Regions from separate parts of the Homo sapiens genome. Here region 2 is linked to region 1. Evidence: promoter capture Hi-C in human tissues and cell types (Jung and others, 2019). All regions are on one chromosome and are shown on one strand. The core of a region is centred on a gene start or on the middle of the fragment in contact, and the rest is flanking DNA. Distances in the headings are between cores, read along the strand shown. Region 1 holds the start of SOBP (sine oculis binding protein homolog). Region 2 overlaps SOBP (sine oculis binding protein homolog).

What was found. Contacts are between HindIII fragments. The study calls those that stand out against the background at their distance.
Region 2: a fragment that was not itself captured here is called in contact with the fragment with the promoter of SOBP in region 1 in 1 of the 25 tissues and cell types used here (dorsolateral prefrontal cortex).

Annotation. Positions count from the first base shown.
Region 1 is chr6:107,488,481-107,492,518 of GRCh38, forward strand. SOBP (sine oculis binding protein homolog) reads left to right here and starts at 1,637. Exons shown (of 7, transcript NM_018013.4): 1 at 1,637-2,232. The coding sequence starts at 2,137. RefSeq lists silencers at 1,867-1,916, 1,957-2,016. The HindIII fragment of the contact is 10,430 bases long and covers 581-4,038 here.
Region 2 is chr6:107,625,765-107,629,802 of GRCh38, forward strand. All of the region lies in intron 5 of SOBP (sine oculis binding protein homolog), which reads left to right. Among named protein-coding and RNA genes, the nearest start is that of SOBP, 140 kb to the left of the region's middle. The HindIII fragment of the contact is 3,928 bases long and covers 267-4,038 here.

The DNA of each region.
Region 1 (4,038 bases), core at 387-2,886:
CCCTCCTGGGTGCACTCCCAGATGTTTTTAAGTTGGCGTTTATTAAAAACAAAATGATGCTAAAATGCAAAATAGGCAACGTGGAGGTACTCAGCTCTCCTGCGTACACGCCCATGTATCTCTAATGTGACATTTAAGAAACAAAACAATGCTAAAATGCAAATTAGGCGATGTAATACCCAGAATGAGCCTCGTTTGACAGGCCAAACTGAGATTTAATGGAAAGCTTACTCATATCCCCACACGGAATTCATTCTTTTAGGAACTTAAAAAAATTGTGTAATTTTAAGTTCCACCACTGTCATAACGAACACTCCACAGTAACATGCAGTGGAACAATGGACACCCCCATATCGCATTGTGTCAGGTAATTATGAAGTGTCGAGGCGCGGGAAGGAGAAGCCGGGAACGTCAATGTGTCCTCTGCAACGTGTGGGAGCGCTCAGAGCCGCGCGTATCACAGAAACATCATCCAGTCGTCACCCCCAATGCCTCAACCCAGGGACAGGGACAGACTCAATCAGACCTCGGCCCCAGGCGTGGCAGGAGAGGGCCAAAGAGGGGACTTGTGAGCGCAGAGGGAGCGAGCACCGCTCCATGGAGGGCAGGCGCTAGCTGGGAAGTCGGGAGGAGAAAGTGCAACCAGGCGGGGAGGGGAGGATCCCACCGGGGCGTGGCGAGGGCGTTCGGGGTCCGGGTGAGCGGGACCCTACGCGGGACCGTGCGCTCCCAGAAGCTCCCACTCAGCCCAACCTTTTGGGCGAAACCCAGGACACCCAGATAAGGGTGCAGGCGGGGTCACGCGTAAAGCTGTTACTTTGAAGCAGGGCATAAGTGAGAGAGAGATAAAGAGAGAAGGAACAAGGGGAAAAAGAAATGAAGGGGCTGAAGGCCGAGATGTCCTACTTCTAAGTAGTTCTTTGAGAGGCAAAAGCTTCATTGCCATTGCAGTCCGAGGCAGCGCCGCGTGGAGGACCGGCCGGGCGGGGCGCGGGGACCTCTCCAAGGGGTCTCCAGCCTCCGCGCACTCTGCGGTGGCCCCCGGAGGGGGAAACTATTCTGGCAGCTCAGTGGGGGGAAGCTCGTCCGGGCTGTGGTTTCCTTTCCCCGAGACCCCAGCGTTGCACCCCCGAGGCGGCAGGCTCAGTCAACCCTCCCCGGGGGACGGCGGCCCTCTAGCCAGGCGACCTCAGGTCTCGCGACCTCCCGCCGCCCAACCTTCTCCTTTCACCCCCATTCATTTTTCCTCAGCGGCTCCTAGGACGGGCTCAAAAACCAACTCCACACGCAACCCAGCCCACCTCGCGGAGCTGAGAAGCAGGGCTGGGTTCCGAGCGGGCGCCGGCGCCCCTGGCGTGTGGCGGGGAGGTGGCGGCCGCGGGGGGCGCCGCGAGCCGCCCGTGCCCGCCGCGGATGAACAGGCGGCTGCGAGCAGCCCCCGGAGCCGCGCAGCATCCGCGTATCCAGTGACGGTGGAAGCCACGCCCGCTCGAGAGCCGGGGGGCTGTCCTCGCCCCCCCCACCTTTCCCCTCCCTCCGACCCCCTCCCGGCCGCGCTCCCTCCCCTCCTCCCGCGCCGGCCCCCGGCCCGCCCCCGGCTCGGCTCGCGGGAGGCGCTGGGCGCCGGGGCTGGCGCGCTCTCCCGGGCTCACACACAGCCGCGCACGCACGCCCGGGGCCGCTCTCCGCGCCGGCCCTTGCTCCCCGCGCCCATGCGGACGGACCGAGCGACGGAAGATGGCTGACGACTCCACGGGGCCCCGAGGATGCGGCCCGGCGGCGGCGGCGGCGGGAGCGGCAGCGGCAGCGAGGGCGGCAGGGGCAGCGGCAGCAGCGGCGGCGTTGGCTGCGGCGGCGGCGGCGGCGGCAGCAGGAGCCGGAGCGACGGCGGCGGCATCCCCGAGACTCTCCGCACTATCCTTACCCGTGACAGCCACTGACGTCCTCCGCCGCTAGAAGAGACCCCGCTTCTCGGCGCCTGCCCTCCCCCTCGCGGCTCGGTCCGGCCCCGCCAGCACCGCTACCTCCGCCAGCCTCGCCACCATCAGCACCACCTCCACCGCCGCCGCCGCCGCCACCACCACCGCCGGCGGCGGCAGCAGCCATTTCATCTCCACAGAAACCAGACACAAAAACATGGCAGAAATGGAGAAAGAAGGGAGACCTCCCGAAAATAAACGGAGCAGGAAGCCGGCTCACCCAGTGAAAAGGGAGATCAATGAGGAGATGAAGGTATTTTTTGATCTCGGGGGCCAGGGAGACTGAGCTCTTTCTTGCGCCCGCTCCCCGTGGGCCGTGGTATGGATCTGGGGGGTACCGGGGCGCGCTTGTCAGTTTCTGTAGGATGCCCAGAACGGCTCCGCTCCTCCTCCAGGTGTAAAGCAGAGGCCAACTCGAGGGCTGCATCCCCGAAATTGTTGCCAACCTCAGATTTGATGAGGGGGGACCACATACTATTTAACCTTACGAATCCCAGGTTGGCACGGACGCGTTTCAGGGCGAGGGCACCGGGGACTCGAGCGGCGTTGGGCAGGGGAAGAGGCTTTCCCAGTGGACGGTGCAGTTTCTCCCCCCTTTTTGAGAATCATCCTCAGGGTCCCTCCAAAGTTAGGAGCCTCCTGGCCGGGGCACCCCGGAGAGAGCTCTATTCCACCCCTCTCCCCCAGCTCACCCTCCTGCTCCTCAATCCCGCTTCCCCCCAACCAACCAGCTGCGACGGCGTGAAGAGCCCGTCAGTGCCCGGCGAGCTGCGGCCCGAGAGGCGCGGGTCTGGGCACGGTCCTGACCGCTCTCCTCGCCCGCCCCCGCCCGCACCTCACCACTGGCAGCCTCCGCCTCCCGCTCGCCTCTGCCTGCCTCACTTCCCAGCCAAGCAGACCCCGGCCAGCCCCGCTGGAGGACAGCTGTCTGAGGGGCGGCCTTTGCAGGGCGCCTGTCCATTGTTCGCTAAGGCCGGCCCGGAGTCCTCTCGGCGAGGCTGGGCTCCCCGCCAGGCCAGCGGTGCACCAGAGGTGGAGAGCGCAGCAGCCTGGCGCTCCAGCTGTTCGCGTTAGAGCAATTGCACAAGAGCACCGCTCAGCTCTGGACCCCCTCGTTGCCCCCCACCTCCTTATTTTCCATGAAGTTGCGGCTTTTGCCTGGGCGAGGGTTTTATTCTGTGTTGATTTCACGAGTCTCTATTGATATAAAACAATTTATTTATTTTTCTGCGAGCCATCAAAAAGTAGCAGGTTTGCATTTTGCGGTCTTCTTGGTGTTCCCCATCTTCTGCATGAAATCCTTAATACTACCAGGTGGCTTAATACTACTACTTGGCCAGTTTTGGTTCAGTTTGTATTTAAAAAACAAACTGGATGAAAATGGTGTGCAAGTAAGTCAAATTTATTGCGCTTTGACGCTTTCTTCATTAGAACAAGCATTTTCTATCATAGCTCACGCTTAGCAGGGGACGCATGGATATATATCATATATGTATGCGTACCTAGGTGCATATGCTTAGCTTTACTTCTCAGAAATGTCAGAAGCAACCTAAATATCAGAATTAGGGGTTTTATTACTGGATAAGGAACTTAGTACCTGGAAGCATGAGGTGCAGCATGAGTCCAACGGAGAGTTAAGGGAGATTTGCCTTGGAAATCAATGCTGTTTCTTATGGTGGAAACCACTGTTGATTCCAATGATGGACAGTTTTATTTTATTTTTTTTAAGACCGGTAGAAGTTGTTGTTTTTTGATGGGAACAAAATTCAAACAGTCCATAATAACCATTCTTCCTCACTTACCCTTACCTCCTGTCCTGCATTTCCAGTTTACTTTTGCATTTCATTTTAGGTTGGGGGTGGGGAAGGGGGAGAGAGGTGAAAGCCACTAGGAAATCACAAGGAGCTCTGGCCCTTTAAAACGCTGCCTAATGTGATCTATATGGATGGCAGCTTTTAAGTTTCATAGGTTCTAGAATTACAAATTAGCTAATTTTAATCAAAACATGTGAAATGTTATCCCGGCTGGATATAAAGGCTGACTGTGCTCGATGCTTGGG
Region 2 (4,038 bases), core at 981-3,480, 140 kb after region 1:
TTACTTGATGTCTGCTTAGTTGTGTTGTGGAACTAAAACCACATATTTTAGAATATGATTTTTGCCATTTTCTAAAAAAAAGTTTGCATGACAGAAGAAATGAGGTGTGTGACCACAGACAGAAGCTGGGCAACTAGCATACTTCACTTTTTAACACATTAGTTTGATGGGTTTCCCTTATATACAAGTACAACCCAAAGTCCTTCCCTGCAACTTTTCTTAAACTCTTATAGTCACAAATAATGAAACTTCAAATATTCATTAGAAAGCAGGAAGAAAAACAGTGACACAAAAAGAGAGCCAAATATATACTTGAAAAACAAAAAGTTACAGTAAATAAGGTAAATACATATCTGAAAAAAGATTCAGATAATACATTTTAAAAAAAGAGGAGTCACAGTATTGGGTTAGAAGAACAAAGGGAAATTTGACATTGAGACAGTAGATATTAAGGATTTTTTTTGCTAAAAGCTGTTAGTTGCATGTTAACCTTTAGAACAAATCTGTTGATAGAGGAGAGTGTGTGCTAATTTTTCCACTTATTGCTAATAGACAGATTTTGAACTCTGCAAGGGCAGGTGTACTAAGTCTCTCCTGCCCTGTTCCACAGCCCATTGCCTTCTGGAGCACAGCGCAGTACTTATTTCTGAATGAATAAAAGTGTTACAAATAGAAGATCGGTTTTCTCTTAAGCTTCAGTTTGAAGCAGAGATGCTTGAATGAAAACAAAACAAAAACTTGTGCCTCCAGTTTCCTGGGGCAGATTCTACCTCATATGAGGGCAGGAGCTTCATTTTACTCATGTCCCAGGTTCCTAGCACAGCACCTCACCCATGATGGGCCCTGAATAAATGTTCACTTTTCAATGAGTAAACTGGATTATGTGATGGCAAATTTTTCAGGGCAGAGAGTAGTTGTGATACTTGGAGCTGATAAAATGGGCATGGGACGGCCTGGCAATGGGAGATGGGCTAGGACGTTGCTCCCTTCTTAGGAGGCACGTTTTCCATGTCTGTAGTCCCCTCCCAGTTTCCTTTCTTTCTCACATGTTTCCCCAGGCAGGGTCGTCACTGTGGATGATCTCCTTTTACAGCTGAGCACTGAGGCTCAGAGGGATTAAATGCCTGGCTCCACTGGGAGCTGGAGGTTGGAGGAGAGGATGAGATGATCACCGAGGTTCCTTTCAGGGCTTAATTTCACTGCTTTGAGATTTCTTAGGTGATTTCTGTGCCCTCTCAGGACCAAATAACTGGAAAACAAAGAGGCAGGCATTTGGTACCAGGCAGACCAGGTTTTTTGATGTACGATTGAATTTTTTAGTTTCCATCTGGATGATTTGTATTGTGAAGGTGTAAGTTGCATTCATCCACCTTAAATGAAGCAGAGAGTTTTGTCATGGTATATTAATACTCTTAAGCAACGTAAAACATCACCCCAAAGAGAAAAATCGTCTTCTGAATCATGTGTTTGGCTGTCAGGGTGGGCCTGCAGTCACTGAATACAGGCCAGGATTCCATCTCTTGCATTGGCTGTAGAATCAGAGACTTGGGTCCATGATAAGCCATTTGTTAAAGCTCATTGAGATCCTGAAAACCAAGCCCATCTCTGCTCTGCCTTACAGAGTTCATGGCACATGAGAAAGAGAAGGAAGGATCTGCTCCTGTGACCTGGGCCAAGATTTCTAGAACCCAGCTTAAAATTTATAAGATAAGTAGAACTTGAGTCATGGTATAAAGTTCCTACAGGGCAGTTTTCTAATGAGATTTTTTCACTTCTAACAAAGATGTTCTTTAGCCTCTCCTTGAGCTCCAAATCTTATTTAAGAGAGAGAGAGAGCTAGAGCAAGCTAGAGAATGAATAAAATACAAAGCAAAACAGACAAACAAACAAAAAAACCCAAATAAAAAGAACTATGTAGCAAACACCAGCATGTTGGAATCTAAACCTGCAGAAAGTTTCTTGTTTTGAAAATGAACTTCTTCATGCATTTGTTTTTATTGTATAAGAGCCCTTCCTGTTTCTACTTTAAATTCCTCTCTCAATTCCGTATGGCTTTGCATGTCTATGACTAGGTCATCTTTTTCCTTCCTTCACTCAAATCCAGCTCTGCAAGAAAAACTTGGAATGGTGAGCTTAGTGTTGGTGTGCCCTTCCCCATTTTGTGGGGGCTCTTCCCTCAAGTGAACATTCTGCCATGGCAGGTTGGGGTCATCCAGTCTTAAAAGGCACCTGATACTGTGGCTTCTGGCCTTTCCTTTGGAAGATAGTTCTGCCATGTAATGAGTCAAGCAGATCGTCCATCAGCTCTGTTTTTTAATACAATATGCATGGCACAGTTTATGGCTTCCACTATTCAAACAGCAGTTGAGCCGAAGAGGAATGATTCATTTTAATGGTTCTAACGCTCATTTCCAAGCAGCCATGTCGCTTTATCAAGCTTTTGCCTGAATTAGAAAATGACTGGCCTTGGAAAAATAAGAGGGCTCAGCAGGAGTTGAATAGAGGCTTTTCAGGATGGTGGGCAGCTGGGATGCACATAGAATTGTGGGCTGGTTCCTTGTCCCTGCAGACAGCTCCTCTGTTAGCCCTGGGGACAGAGCCTCCTAGGGAGCAAGGTGGGGGCTGGTATCTGTGAGGTGTAGCATGAGTTTGCCCAGAGAGAAACGTGCCCTGTTTTATCTCAAAGACACACAGGCTCATAGGAAAGCAGTGGATGAAAATCTCCCTTTCCCTCTTCCTGCAGCCATAGAAGCATCCTCCCCATAAAACACATGTAAAACATGTGGGACAGGCTGGGGATTGAAAATATATACTCTGTAAGAAGCTTAGTGATATGCCTAGCACACAATCATTAGACTGTTAGCTCCATTTTACAGATAAAGAAACTGAGGCTGAGATTTTCGTAATGTTGCACTGCTAATAAGGAATAAAGCCCAGATTCATGCCAACATCTTTTGATTCTAAATCCCATGTGATTTCCATAGCCTCTTTTGCCACTCAGGGACACTGAACTAGGGCCCTGCTGGTGGCAGTGTCTAGACCCAAAGGAACAGTTGATACTGGGACCACGGCATTCCAGGGTAGGGCTGGGAGCAAGTGCTCAGGTGGGTCAGTCTGAGGCCCTCAGCTCATGCTGTGAGGTGACTGTCTACAGGCAGAGCAGACCCCAAAGCCTTCAAAACACTGAGCACCCCTGCCCACATCCCTCCATCCTCCTTTGCTTCACTTGAATGAGTTCATGATTTTTGAGCTGGCCTAGACTACAAGATCAGTGCCACAGTCAACATGCCAAGGCCCAGAGAACCTCCCTTTTATGATAAGCTACAGTTTTGCTTAAGGAGCTACAACGTCTGAGCTGTTACCTAGGAGATACATTAGTAGACAGTCAGATGAAGTGGAAAGCACGTGAAGATTTTTTTTGTTTTATTTTTCAAATTGTTGATGGCATTCACGGAGGTGCTAATATCTTTTTTTTTTTTTTTTTTTTTACTGTTCCATTGCTACAAACATCTTTGCCCAGTTAAAGATTTCAGCAAAAGGGTTTCTTAATTAAATATTGCCTGATGCCAGATTACTGCTCAGAAGGCAGTGGTGGATTCCATTAAAGGCTGAACTTTACTCCCACAGCTAACAGCTGATGAATGTGTTAATTAGGAACCCTGTCCCCCTCCCTCAGTTGCCTGAGTTTTTTCTTAAGCCCAGAAGAACCTGTATATCGTGCCCATGTGGGTAACCTCATGGCATACTTTGGCCTTGACTTTGACGTTTATATAAAAATAAAGGCTCAGTTGCCAACATGAATAGCTTTCTCTCTTTCTGGGGAAATACAAGATGGAAAGAGTTATAAGAACCACAAGTCGTGCCTTTCGGCTTTCTTATATCAGGAGCAAGTGATATATGTGCTGAGGCAGTGTCTTTGGAGCAGTTGAGCGGTGTAGGTTGCCACACATTTATTTCACAGGAAAGGAGTGAATCCATCAGGCCACTGAGCTTATAAGTACTACTCTGGCAGTCAGCCACCCAAATATAAATACTCTA